Linked DNA regions of Homo sapiens: all the other regions are linked to region 1. Evidence: promoter capture Hi-C in 16 types of primary human blood cells and fetal thymus (Javierre and others, 2016). All regions are on one chromosome and are shown on one strand. Each heading gives the region's core, a stretch centred on a gene start or on the middle of the fragment in contact. The rest is flanking DNA. Distances are from core to core; before and after follow the strand shown.

Evidence for each region. Contacts are between HindIII fragments. The CHiCAGO score rates a contact against its expected background, and 5 or more counts as called.
Region 2: a contact is called between a fragment that was not itself captured here and the fragment with the promoter of ZFAND5 in region 1, in 1 of 17 cell types (neutrophils). The highest score is 5.2, in neutrophils.
Region 3: a contact is called between a fragment that was not itself captured here and the fragment with the promoter of ZFAND5 in region 1, in 1 of 17 cell types (fetal thymus). The highest score is 5.1, in fetal thymus.
Region 4: a fragment that was not itself captured here is called in contact with the fragment with the promoter of ZFAND5 in region 1 in 2 of 17 cell types (fetal thymus and total B cells); the score reaches 8.4 in fetal thymus.
Region 5: a fragment that was not itself captured here is called in contact with the fragment with the promoter of ZFAND5 in region 1 in 3 of 17 cell types (total CD8 T cells, non-activated CD4 T cells and naive B cells); the score reaches 7.8 in total CD8 T cells.

What each region holds. Positions count from the first base shown.
Region 1 is chr9:72,363,914-72,366,510 of GRCh38, reverse strand. ZFAND5 (zinc finger AN1-type containing 5) reads left to right here and starts at 1,303. Exons shown (of 7, transcript NM_001102420.3): 1 at 1,303-1,815. RefSeq lists silencers at 1,065-1,444, 1,455-2,284 and enhancers at 892-1,596, 1,597-2,300. The HindIII fragment of the contact is 8,298 bases long and covers 1-2,597 here.
Region 2 is chr9:75,121,178-75,123,774 of GRCh38, reverse strand. All of the region lies in intron 2 of OSTF1 (osteoclast stimulating factor 1), which reads right to left. Among named protein-coding and RNA genes, the nearest start is that of OSTF1, 34 kb to the right of the region's middle. The HindIII fragment of the contact is 9,426 bases long and covers 1-2,597 here.
Region 3 is chr9:75,093,532-75,096,128 of GRCh38, reverse strand. All of the region lies in intron 1 of OSTF1 (osteoclast stimulating factor 1), which reads right to left. Among named protein-coding and RNA genes, the nearest start is that of OSTF1, 6.3 kb to the right of the region's middle. The HindIII fragment of the contact is 1,505 bases long and covers 529-2,033 here.
Region 4 is chr9:75,025,053-75,027,649 of GRCh38, reverse strand. The region is part of intron 1 of CARNMT1 (carnosine N-methyltransferase 1); the gene reads left to right. Among named protein-coding and RNA genes, the nearest start is that of CARNMT1, 1.9 kb to the left of the region's middle. RefSeq lists an enhancer at 476-525. The HindIII fragment of the contact is 836 bases long and covers 904-1,739 here.
Region 5 is chr9:74,954,196-74,956,792 of GRCh38, reverse strand. All of the region lies in intron 1 of CARNMT1-AS1 (CARNMT1 antisense RNA 1), which reads right to left. Among named protein-coding and RNA genes, the nearest start is that of CARNMT1-AS1, 2.5 kb to the right of the region's middle. The HindIII fragment of the contact is 4,014 bases long and covers 1-2,597 here.

The DNA of each region.
Region 1 (2,597 bases), core at 54-2,553:
AACTGTGGCGGAGAACTGTTTGATTTGGCAGTGGTGGCTCAAGCTATCAGTATAGCATTCCCCCAAATACAGATTATAAATAAGGACCACCTGAAGCGCAATATGGGCCCCCCCCCACCCCCGCTCCCACCCCGGAACAACCAAAACCATATCCAGGGGAGATGCGTAGGAATCTTTAATCACCCCAGGTGATTTTTTTTCTGATTACCAACTTTGAGAAACACTGAAGGGACCTCTTCTCCATTCTATATGTGGCTAATATAAACCCTAAACATCATTTCTATGTATTCGTTAGACCGTTGTTTACTAGAAAATTTCAGAAGTCCTTTCCGACTTAGTAATTTTGTTATTTTGAGTTGAACTGAAATTCACTTGGAGCGGTCAGTTGAAAATGTTTTTTGTTTGTGCTCTGAAAAGGTTCCCAGTGTTCCGGGTAAAGTCATCCTTTCACCCATGGGGGACCTGTGCCTCGTGCCTGAACTGCCCGCCTAGTACCTCCCCCCTTGAACTTCCTCTCGCAAGCCTCCTCCTCCCGCTTCATCTGGGCCTCGGGTCTAGCTTGTTTTGTCCCTTCGCGGCTTTTGAGTAGAACATTTGGTGCTTTCCCAGTTCACGACGCTTTGCTGGAATCGTCAATTTCCAGGGATTTCACAGGCTGGCCAAAACAGTTTGTTCAGAACAGCGCCGCCGGGGCATTGGCAGCCCTGGGCGGCCGCGCGTTTCCTCACTCCGCACAACCACCCGTGACCTTGGGCGAGCGAACGCACGCCGCCAGCTGCGTCAGGGCCACGCTCGGGCTGGACTTCGGAGCTCAAAATGGGTGTGGGGAGTGAGGAGGTTTCATAAACAGAAAAGACCTCGAAGCCATAAGGCAATTCTTTTCCTTTTCTGGGGGTGAATCCTTACGATTCTTGGGGGAGGGAATGTCTGCCCAGGGCTGGAGACAAAGCGTGAGAACTAGGATGGCGAAAAACGGGTTTGAATGAGAAAATCCGAAGGAGGGAGGCTGAGGGCGGACAATTGGGTTAAAAATAGAAACGCATCCTCCACAGGACTCGCTCTTCCCAGCTCCACCCTAGGGGCCGACTGCCAGGCCAGTGGCTGGGCTCCGCGAGAAGGCACAGCAACCCGTCTCGGCCCCGCCTCCTGGACCTACTGACAGGGCACCGGGGGCGTGGCCTTGGGCCCGCGACGTCACCGCGCTCCCCGCCGCCGCCGCCGCCGCCGGGGTTTTCGCTGACGCACGGGTCCCGCCCCCTCCCCCTCTTTTCCCTCACAGCCCGGGCGCCGGGCGGCGAGTGCGTTAGTCGGCCGGGACGCGGAGCTGTGTGCATCTCCTACGCGGGCTCGCTCGCTCCCGGGAGCCGCGCAGCTTCCCCGGCGGTGGCAGGAGCGGCGAAGAGCGCCATCAGCGGGCCCTTACGGCCCCAGGCCTCGCGGCGCGCGGTCCGCTCGCCCTCCTCGTCCGCCCAACCTGCGGCCTGTGGAGGCGTGAGGCGACGACAGGCGAGCGCCTCGAGCAGCGTTAGCCGCTGCGGCCGCCGGTCCTCCCTCCACCTCCTCCTCGGCCCCCCCTCGCTTCCCTCCTCCCACTTCCCGAGCTCCGGCGTGTCCCGGCCACGCTCGACGCTGCTGCAGGAACAAAGGAAGACCCCGCGGCGGCGGCGGCGCCACCTCCGCCTGCTGCTCCGACCCGCTCCCGGCCCGCGGCGGCGGCACCAGGGCGCCCGGCTCAGCCTTCCCGGAGGCCTCGGCCCGGCCTCATCGTGCCGGCTTCGCGCGCGAACCCGGCTTTCGCATTTGGGACCCTGCAGGGTGAGTGATACGGGGCTGCGGGTGGGAGCCGGGCTCCTTGTTGCCGGGCCGGGGGCGGGAGTGAAGGGACCGGGGCGCCGCGGGCCAATGGCGAAGCCGGAGCAGGCCGCGGATGGCGGCGTCCGGGGGAGGGGAGCCCGCCCGCCAGCCCAGGAAGCACAAAGACGGAGGCGTCATCCTGTCGTCGTGGCCCGAGACCTGGCTCCCGGCGTCCCTGGCTCGCTCCACAGCACGGTCGGGAAACAATGCACGGCGTGCCGCCTCTGCGGGGCCGGCCTCTAGGCCGCTCGCCTCCGCGGCGGCGCCCGGCGTGGGCACCACGACCCAGAGAAACAAAGAGGCCGAGGCGGCGGCCGCGCCCCCTGCCCGTTGCAGCCCCCCCTAGCTCTCCCCTAAGAGGAGCCGTTCGGGGTCGGGGGTCGGGGGTCGGGGATCCGCGTGGGGCCTGCAGGCGAAGGGCTGGCCGGGCCTGCTGAGCTGCTGTTCTGCATGACTCAGTGGTTTTCGGAGAGGGCCCTGTTGGGCTTTATTGAGTGAGGCCTTTGCTTAGAGGGGGATGGGGTATCAGTGGGACCCGAACTTGTTCCAAAATCCATTGGAACATGGGGCCGGGGGTTCTCGGCGTCGTCTTTTGGGCTTCTCGACGTCGCTGCGTTTTTATCCTGAGATCCGTTTTCATGGAGGAAATGGAACACCTCCTTTGTTTGGTGCATTTAGGCTGATGAATGTGAAATTTTTTGCTCGCTTTCCACGCACTCCGTGGAGGTGTGTTTTCGGGGAAG
Region 2 (2,597 bases), core at 56-2,555, 2.8 Mb before region 1:
TCCATAGCTCCCAGACACGGAATGCTACTACTCGTAAAATGTCTTCTTCTAAAGAAACTAGGGACACGTTTTCCTAATCTAGCTAAGTACCAAATTCTTCACAGTGTTGGTGGCAGTACATACAACACGGTAATTTCATTATTTTAACAACAGATTTCACCTGCAATATTCACATTTTCCATTAAGAAACCACTAGCAGGATACCTGATCTAAATTGTTCAATGAGCACCTACTTTTAAATTCCCAGCATCACAGTTAGGGAACAGAAATGGGAAAACAATAACATAATGAAGTATGCACTTCTCTGTTTCCAGCTTTTCTTTGTTTTTTGTTTTTTGTTTTTTTGTTTTTTTGAGACGGAGTCTCACTGTCGCCCAGGTTGGAGTGCAGTGGCACGATCTCGGCTCTCTGCAGGCTCCGCCCCCCAAGGGTTCACGCCATTCTCCTGCCTCAGCCTCCGGAGTAGCTGGGACTACAGGTGCCTGCCACCTCGCCCGGCTGATTTTTTTGTATTTTTAGTAGAGACGGGGTTTCACCGTGTTAGCCAGGATGGTCTCGATCTCCTGACCTCGTGATCCACCCGCCTCGGCCTCCCAGAGTGCTGGGATTACAGGCGTGAGCCACTGCGCCCGGCCTTTCTTTGTTTTTTAACTACATTCCTCCTTTCCTCTCTCCTTGAAGAACAGCAAGGTATCAGAATAAGTAGGCTGTTGTCCACTGGGATGTTACAGCAAAGAGTACACACTTGGTAACATATATTCCCATTCCATATATTCTTGGTAACATATAATTCCCAAGGCATTAATTTTGTTGGTTTATGCAAATATATTTTATGAAAAGTTTAGAAAAACTGATATACTTTTGAAATTTTTAAGATTTGTCAGTCTGAAGCCCCCAAAATTAATAAAAAGAGAAAACAAATTCTCCACAGATGTTTTTATTCAACACTTTATAGTATATATTATGTGCCACGTACTGGTCTGGGCATTCAGAAATATTAACTAATTTGTTCCTCACCAAGAACACTATGAAGTGGGTGCTATTCTTATCATCATGTTACAGATGAGAAACCTCTCCAAGGCCATAGAGCAGGTACATGGTAGAACCTGGACTTGAACTATAAGTCAGATTACGAAGTCCCTGCTCTTACCCACCACCTGTGCTTTCTCTCATACAAAAGGCATCACACACAGCCATTATTGGCCATCATGGTGTCATGACCAGATTAACAGCTGGCCACCTTGGAAAATATCTGTCTGTATACACTCCCAACTGCCCTACCCCTATAGTACAGTATAACAAAACCAATGGCAGCATATTTTACTTGCAAAGTATACTTGACCTCATTTGGTCCTCACAACTCACTAGGCTTGGATGGGTCATGGATATAATCTCTATTTCACAACCAGGCTTAGAGAAGTTAAAAACTCTCTACAAATCAGAGTGAGTGGCAGGGCTGGGCTCCTATCTCAGCTCTTAGATTCCCAGTCTCCTTCCTCTACACGTGGCTCTATTAACCTAGTGCAGCCCAGCAACCTTTACATGACAGAGCAGGGTCCTGCTGGTTTCCCTTTGGAAATCAATGCTCCTCTTAACACAGGAAATTCTGTTCCCTCCTCATCAGTCTGTCTTGACACTCGTCAATTCAGTCCAGCCAGGTCCGTGGTTGACACTTTATTAAAAGGAGCTGGGTGAGAAAAAAGAACCAAATGGGGCTGGGTGGTGCCAAGACACCCTTGCCTTTAAGCAAGACAAATGAGAAATGGGTTGGCAGGAAGAACCAGGAGCTACCTAGCGTTCTTCCTGTTCAATGGATCCCCAAGACTGGGGTTGCGCATTGCTGTCCCCATCTCCTGAGGGGGAACAGGAGCTTAAAACTGGACCCAGGCCTGCCTGGGGAGCTGCACATGCCAGCAATGTCCCTCAGAGCCCACCTCAGCCTTTCAATATTGCCTGGTCCCAGTGATTTCGAGGAGGCCAGGTCAGCTTAGGATATGCTGTGGTGTATCTATCCCTCCAGAGAAGATGGCTGCTGGTCAGAGGGGAGAGAGAGAGACCAAACAGCTTCCAACAGAAATTCTCATTCAGAAAAAGAAGATAAGACTAACCTAGTTCTGGAATGAGATTCAAAATTTAACAATGGGTATGGCATGGCACTTAACCAGTCAGGAAGGTCTGTGGGAGCTAGAGGCTACCTGCTGTACCAGATGCTACCCCCTTCATACCTGAATTGAACGGAGCTGAACAGGGGAGAAATATAGAGGCAACAGGGCTTGAAGTGGTCATTACTGACTGTAGCCTATAATCCTTGGGACTAAAAATATTAAAAATACAACATTTTAAATATAGAATATTTTTTAAAGCCTAAAGAATTAAATGTATATTCTCCTGTATATTCAATAATAACTAAGATTTTTTTAAAAGCAGTGGAGAAACTCCATCTTAGAGTAGAATTGGAAGTAAATAAATCAATACACAACCCATCAAAAATATCTGTTAAATGTCTATTAATATAGCAACCACTATTCCTTCGATAGTAACAATTACTCCTTAATAGTAAAAGCAGCTTTAGGCAATTAATCTCATTTAATTCTCAC
Region 3 (2,597 bases), core at 32-2,531, 2.7 Mb before region 1:
CGGAGGTCAGGAGATCGAGACCATCCTGGCTAACACGGTGAAACCCTGACTCTACTAAAAATACCAAAAATTAGCCAGGCGTGGTGGCGGGCGCCTGCAGTCCCAGCCACTCAGGAGGCTGAGGCAGGAGAATGGCGTGAACCCGGGAGGCGGAGGTTGCAGTGAGCCGAAATCGCGCCACTGCACTCCAGCCTGGGCGACAGAGCAAGACTCCATCTCAAAAAAAAAAAAAGGGGGGCCACAGCAGTCACACCAATAACTTGTTTAATTGATTTGCAGTTGCTAAATCTCTTCAACTCGTTGCCCTAAACTAAACACCTACAGCAACTGTTAACACTGAGAAACAGATAAGCAATCTGTGAAGAGGGCTGACGTGTGCATTTAAATTCTTGCTTTCTGTGTGGAGCAATACCATTTTTCACAAACTGTTACACTGGGTAAACGGCCTTCCCTTTATTCAGAGAAAATTATCTGGTTCACAGTTCTCTGTGCACATACCAAATTTCCTTGACTTCTCTGAAAGAAGCTTAGCCCTTATTTAGTTAGACAAATGTGGACAGGAGGATGCATTATTTCATTTCTGCCTGAATCAAATGACTTTTCCCCCTTTGCTGCCCAGCAAACTCTTACTCAGCATTGGGAACTCTGCTTAGATTACTCCTCTTCCGTAACATCTTCTCAGCTGCCTCAAGCTCCTTGCCCCATGCTTCCCAGCCCTCTGATCACACTTTGATAACATCTCCTATCACAAGCACTGAGATTTTTCTGTTTAAGACATGCTCATACATTTTTGGTAGGGAAGTAAACTGGTATGACCTCTTTGAAAAGCGATTTGGAAATTTCTATGAAAACAGCAGTGCACTTACCCTCTGAAACAACAAATCCCACTGCCAGGACTTTATCCTATGGATTTACGTGTGTAAGCAACAACAATACTATTGGGAGACTATTTGTTATAACAAAAGATTGAAAACAATCCAGAAGTACGTTAATTAGGGTCTGGTTAAATGAGCTCAGCAGAATACTATGTAGTTATTTAAAAGAACCAGGAAGTTCTCCTGGTTCTAATATTTGTGTTGTATTGTTTGTTTGTTTATTTGAGACAGGGTCTCGCTCTGTCACCCAGGCTGGAGTGCAGTGGCACGATCTTGGCCTCCCAGGCTCAAGTGATCCTCCCACCTCAGTCTCCTAAGTAGCAGGGACTACAAACACGCACCACCAAGCCCAGCTAATTTTTTCATATTTGTTGTACAGAAAAGGTTTCACCATGTTGCCCAGGCTGGTCTCAAACTCCTAGGCTCAAGCAATCTGCCTGCCTGGGCCTCCCAAAGTGCCAGGATTACAGGTGTGAACCACTGTGCCTGGCCTGTACATTTTTCTGAAACTCCTTTAATTTGATAAGAGAATCTTGACACCTCACTCATATCAGCCCACTGAAAGGTGTCCCTGTATCATTTTTTTTTTAATGTAGTCTTTCCCTGTCCATTAAGCAAGTGAGGACAACTTTGGCAATGGGTTCTGTTATGCCCTGAGGTATAAGGTGTGTATTAGAAAATCTCACTGCACTAGTCACGTAAGTCAAATTGTGGGAATGCTGAAACGCCAAGGGAGGGGACCCCAGTATTTCCAGAAGGGAGGAATGCTTATCAGAAGCACATAACCTCCAGCCTTTGCTACTTTGTAGTAAAGCTACAAGAAAAGCCCAATCACAGTCTCTGAGTCCACCCCCACCTTCTTTCAGGGAAAAAAAAAAAAACCCACCTTTTTTTTGTATCAAAGCGTTTTACATTATCTGTCATTCATAACGATTTAGTGGCTGTGCAGTTACAAAGAAATAAAAGACTGTTCCACTCTCAAAAAGTGCATAGTTTAATGCTCTAATACGGATCCATTGAAAGAGGGCAGTTACACAAACCAAATACCAATAATACAACTGCATAAGCTAATAAAATGACTGTCCAACAAAAGCAGGTCCAACCCAATAACATCTCTGGCAGGTTTCTCTGCTCATATGCATGGACTCAATTAAAGCTTCTGTTCCACTTCCAGGTCACACCAACCACTCACTAGCTTTGAGATCTTAGATAGTTTACTTGACCTCATTAAGTACTACTTCATCCATAAAACAGGGATATGAGGACCCACCCACCTGATAGGAAAGTCAGAATAATTAAAGGAGACAGAGCATACACAGTGCTGGGTGCAGTGCCTGACATATGGGGCCAAATATATGTTAACCATTCCCATCATCATCATCATTGTGAAATTTTCAAGATGTTTCTCAGGCTTTATTCTGCCAACAGGTATAAAAAGTATCAAGTTTATAAAAGAAGACTATTCACGTGCATATTTCACCTCACTTTTGATTAATTCCTTTGTTGGGGTAAAAAATACATAAAAATTAAGTTCATTTTAGATAAAAACCTTTTTTTCTCAAAAATGTTATTTAAGCAGCATGCGTGTGATGTCTTTTAAGTTTTATGATGTTTTTACTCTGAATAACAAAAAAACCTGAAACACTGACATTTGCTTCTTCAAAGTTCCATGAATTTATTTTCACAAGGCACATGAAATATTTATGCTTTACTTTCACCACC
Region 4 (2,597 bases), core at 72-2,571, 2.7 Mb before region 1:
GGGCTGATTGGTGTGTGTGGTCGATGTCCTCCAAACTGAACACACGGAGAGCCCAAGTTCACCTACGCGTGGGATGCTGTAGGACGTATTTTCCCAAACTGTTACCAGTGCTTGTAAGAGCAGTTTAAGATTTCCACCCACCCCTCTTTGGCGCTGTGAACGCACTTGCACTTTTGTGTGAGCGATTGAATGATGCTGCTCAGTGTCTTTAACTGGTGGGTGATTAAGGGCGGAAGTGGTCCGGATATTCTAAAATTTGCTAATTATTAGGAGAGATGAGAGAAGTCACAATAAGAGCTGCCTTTACGTTCTTTTTTTCTGCAAATCTGTATCTAATTCTCCCTGGTGTGCTAGGCACTGTGGTAGGACCTTTATGCTCCTCATTCATAAAAACAGCTCCCTAACTTCCACGTTTCTTCTAGATAGATGTTAAAGTAGCTTAATCACAAAATTATAATTCCAAGAGCTGAAAGGGACTTAAATCAACTGGATTTTCAGGTGAAGATAACACTTTTATTCACGTAAGAGATATGAGTCCACCGGTGACTATGTTCTGAGGCTGCAGTTGGAATCAGACAGACATGACCTCCTACGCAGGTAAACCTGTTCCCATAGGTGGGTTCCTGCTGTGCTTTATGCAAAGTTTTTTTATATTGTTCATCTTATGTATTATAGTTGTTTTTATAAATCTCTTGCTTTGCTGTGACCTCCTCAAGGGCAGGGGCTGAGTCTTTTTTATTTTTATGTCACTAGTGCTTGGCATATGTTGTTTAAGCTCTATTTTTAACAAAACAAATAGTAGCAAAGAAATACATTTCTCATTCCCAAATAGTCTGTCAAGTTTTTGACTGATAGTTAAATTAGTTTACTAGTCTGAATTTAGAAGCTTGCTTAGTGAAAGCTTAAAGTTATTTGGAATCTGATTGTATATGTGATAGGAACTTTTGAACTTCGAAGATCTTGATGAAATAATTTACTGATTAAACCCAGAAATAGGGACCAGGGACAGCATTACTTTACGGAGCCCAAAAGAGAAGTTTGGATATTTTATTTCTCCAGGTTTAGTAGTAACAGAGGGAGCAAGGCGTCAGACCATCAGAGAATTGAATTTGATGCAGGAATTGTGACGGAAAGAACCATAAAGTTAGGAAAGGCAGCTAACATCAGATAGCTAAGAGTGGGAGATACAGAAAAGTCTGGTACATTTTGCTCTTGAAAAATCTAGAAAGAATATTGGGAAATGTCTTGGGAATATGGTGGACCCATTTAGTTAAGTGCGTAGTTGTACTTACTTTTAATATATTAGGACCAATTTAAAATTGATATTTATGGGTAAGTATGGGATGGGACTTTGTTGGGGTAGGGGTTGATCAGGAACTGAAGTGTGGCAATATAGAGAAGAGATCTTGTGTGAATATTCTAGTGGTTGTGATACTATTTCCTATACTCTCTTCTTTACCAGCGTAATGTTGGATTCAGGACATTTCATTTTTTAAAAAAAACAGTTTTTATTTGTATATACTCTCTTGAAACACTTCAAATACTTGGGCTGAAAATAGTATAACATCAAAAATATGCTTTTTAAAATGTCACTTAAAGCCTAGGGGTACAGAAAGTTTATGTAGCAGAGAACAGTGGATTGTTACATTCTAATATTTTGTGATCTTCTAGACTTAAACTGTAGCCACTAATCATATCTGGATAAATTTAAGCTAAAATTAATTAGTATTTAATAAGCTTTAAAATTTAGTTGCTCAGTTTCACTACCCATATTTCAGGTGCTCAATAGCTACATGTGGCTAGAGTCTGCTGTACTGGACAGTGCAAATAAAAGCTTTTCCATTATCGAAGTAGGTTGTGATGGACAATCCGGTTCTACACATTTAGCAAGTACAGTTGACCCTTAAACAATATGGATCTGAACTGCACGGGTCCACTTATACACAAATTTTTTGAAATAAACATATTGGAAAATTGTTTTGACATTTGCAACAATTTGAAAAACTTAGCAAACTTGCATAGCCTAGAAATAGTGAAAAAATTAAGAAAAAATTATGCCATGAATGCATATGTGTAGATACTAGTTTATCATTTACTACCATAAAATATACACAAATCTATTATAAAAAGTTAAAATTTATCAAAACTTACACAAACACAGATCTTACATGGAGCTATTTGCAATTGAGATAAATGTAAACAAGCAAAGATGTAGCATTAAATCTTAGTTGCATAAAATTATCTGTAGTAGATACTGTACTACTGTAATAATTTTGTAGCCACTTCCTGTTGCTTTTGCAGTAAGCTCAGATGTTACCAGTATCTTCTTAAAATAATCACTCTGCTTTTGTCTGTCAAGTAAATTGCATATAGCAGTAAACAGATTTCATCAAATTTAATGCAATACCATAAACCTTAAATAACACCATGGGTCCCATATGACGTGCCACTGGTGATGCTGCAGGTGCTCCCAAGAAGCAGAGAAAAAAGACATTACAAGAAAAAGTTGATTTGTTTGATATGTACTGTAGATAGAGGTCTGCAGTTGGAGGTTGCCCCCCAACCCCATTTCAGACAGAGGATTCATCTTGTAATCA
Region 5 (2,597 bases), core at 36-2,535, 2.6 Mb before region 1:
TGAAAGTATTTCAAACTGAAAGATAATAAAAATACAACATACCAAAATTTGTAGGATGTAGCCCAAGCAGTGCTACAGGGAAAGTTACAGCTTTAAGTGTTTATTTTAGAAACTAACAAAGACGGCTGGGCACGGTGGCTCACGCCTGTAATCCCAGCACTTTGGGAGGCCGAGGTGGGTGGATCACCTGAAGTCAGGAGTTTGAGACCAAGCTGGCTAGCATGGTGAAACCCCACCTCTACTAAAAATGCAAAAATTAGCCAGGTGCGGTGGCATGCACCTGTAGTCCCAGCTACTCGGGAGGCTGAGGCAGGAGAATCGCTTGAACCTGGGAGGCAGAGGCTGCAGTGAGCCAAGATCGTGCCACTTCACTCCAGCCAGAGTGACTCTGTCTCCAAAAAGAAACTAACAAAGACTACAATCAGTGACCTAGGTTCTATTAGAAGAAGCTAGAGAAAGAAGAGCAAAGTAAATCCAAATTTAGTAGAAGCCAATGAAATGGGAAAAAGAGAAACTAAGAAAATATTCCAACAAATGTGATGAATGAAATGGACAAATTCCTTGAACAAGTGGATCTGGTACTACTTACAACTTAGGGTAAACTAATTTCAAATTCTACTTCTGGGGCCTTAAAAAAAAAAGAACCCAGAGCAGCAACAAAAACTCAGAAAATGTTATTTAAAAAGAAAAAGAATATTGTCTACAAAAATTATAAAGTGCCTAGGGATAAACTTAACAAAGATATAAGCTCTTTATGTTGAGAAATATAAAACTTTATTGAAAGATTTTTAAAAACTTAAATAGTTATATTCTTGAACAGGAAATGAGCTTGGTATTGTAAAGATAATAATTCTTCCCAAATTGATCTATAATCTCAATGCAATTATAACCAAAATTCCAAAAGGGTAACTAAATGTTACAGAGGATGCTATTATGGAAGAACAAAGGGCCAAGTATAGTTGACACACTCCTAAAGAACAAGATGTCAAAGACTGCTCTCAAAACTTTGATCATCTTGATGGTGGTTATGGTTTCACAGGTGTATGAATGTCAAATTGTACACTTTATATGCACATTATTGTGTGTCATTTAGACCTAGGTAAAGCTGTTTTAAAAACAAAAACAAAAAAAAGCCCGGCAAAACAAGCCTGGGCAACATAGTGAGACCTTGTTGCTACTAAAAATAAAAAATTAGCTGGGTGTGGTGGCACAAGCCATGGGCCCAGCTACTTGGGAGGCTGAGGCAGGAGGATTGCTTGAGGCCAGGAAGTTGAAGCTGCAGTGAGCAGTGATCACGCCACTACATTCCAGCCTGGGCAACAGAGCAAGACCTGGTCTCAGAAAATATATTAAGCTGGGTGTGGTGGCTCATGCCTGTAATCCCAACACTTTGGGAGGCCAGGGCAGGCAGATTGTTTGAGTTCAGGACTTTGAGACAAGTCTGGGCAACGTGGCAAAACCCTGGCTCTACAAAAAAATTTTAAAAATTAGCTGGGTGTGGTGATGTACACCTGTAGTCTCAGCTACTCAGGAGGCTGAGGTGGGAGGACTGCTTGCCCCTGAGAGGTCAGGGCTGCAGTGAGCTGTAATCATATCACTGCTCTCCAGCCAGGGCAACAGAGCAAGCCCCGTTTCAAAAAAAAAAAAAAAAAAGTTATTTAGCAATATACATACAGACATACAAATGGAAGAGTTAAAAAGCAAAGGAATGATTAACTCAACATGTAAAACGGTAATTACCGGGAGTGAGGGAAAGGGAAGGGTATGTGCCAGTGGGGAAGGGACGCATAGGGAGCTTGTCATGTTCTAGTATAGGTAGTATTCTATTTCTGAAACAGAATGCTGTATGTCTTACTATCATTCTTTTAACTACATGTGTATTTTATACAACCTTTTGCATATATGATAAGTTTCACAATTTTGAAAAAATGAGCGTTTGTAAAGAGGAACACAAAAGAACCAACCATTAGCTAAACTTATTATTTTGGGGGTACTCAAAACCTTTCAAACAGCACTTGATGACTACGATTAAGATCTTTCCTGCTGATTTAAAAATGGCAAAACTCTTCCTCTGTTTGAGACAGACGGGTTTTCAATTTATTTTTTTTTTTTTGGAGACAGGGTCTCACACTGTCACCCAGGCTGGAAGTACAGTGGTGCAATCTTGGCCTCTGCCTCCAGGGTTCAAGCGATCCTCCCACCTCAGCCTCCCTGGGACTACAGGTGCAAGGCACCACCTCTGGCTAATTTTTGTATTTTCTGTAGAGATGGGGTTTCACCATGTTGGCCAGGCTGGTATGGAACTCCTGGGCTCAGGTGATCTGTGCACCTCATCTTCCCAAAAGTGCTGGGATTAAAGACGTGAGCCACCGCACCCGGCCGGTTACCAATTTCAAACAAGAAAAGTAAAAACCAAACAGAAAAGCTATTGCTTACTACCCTAACTTGGTACATTTCTGTGCTTGTTAATAACTAATAATTAACTTGTCCTCTCACAACCACCTTGAGATGCAGGGGTACAGGGTAAATTAGTACTGAGATAGTACCTAGCACTAAAATAGAATTATCTTTCTTGCACACTTTTTCTACAGAGGATG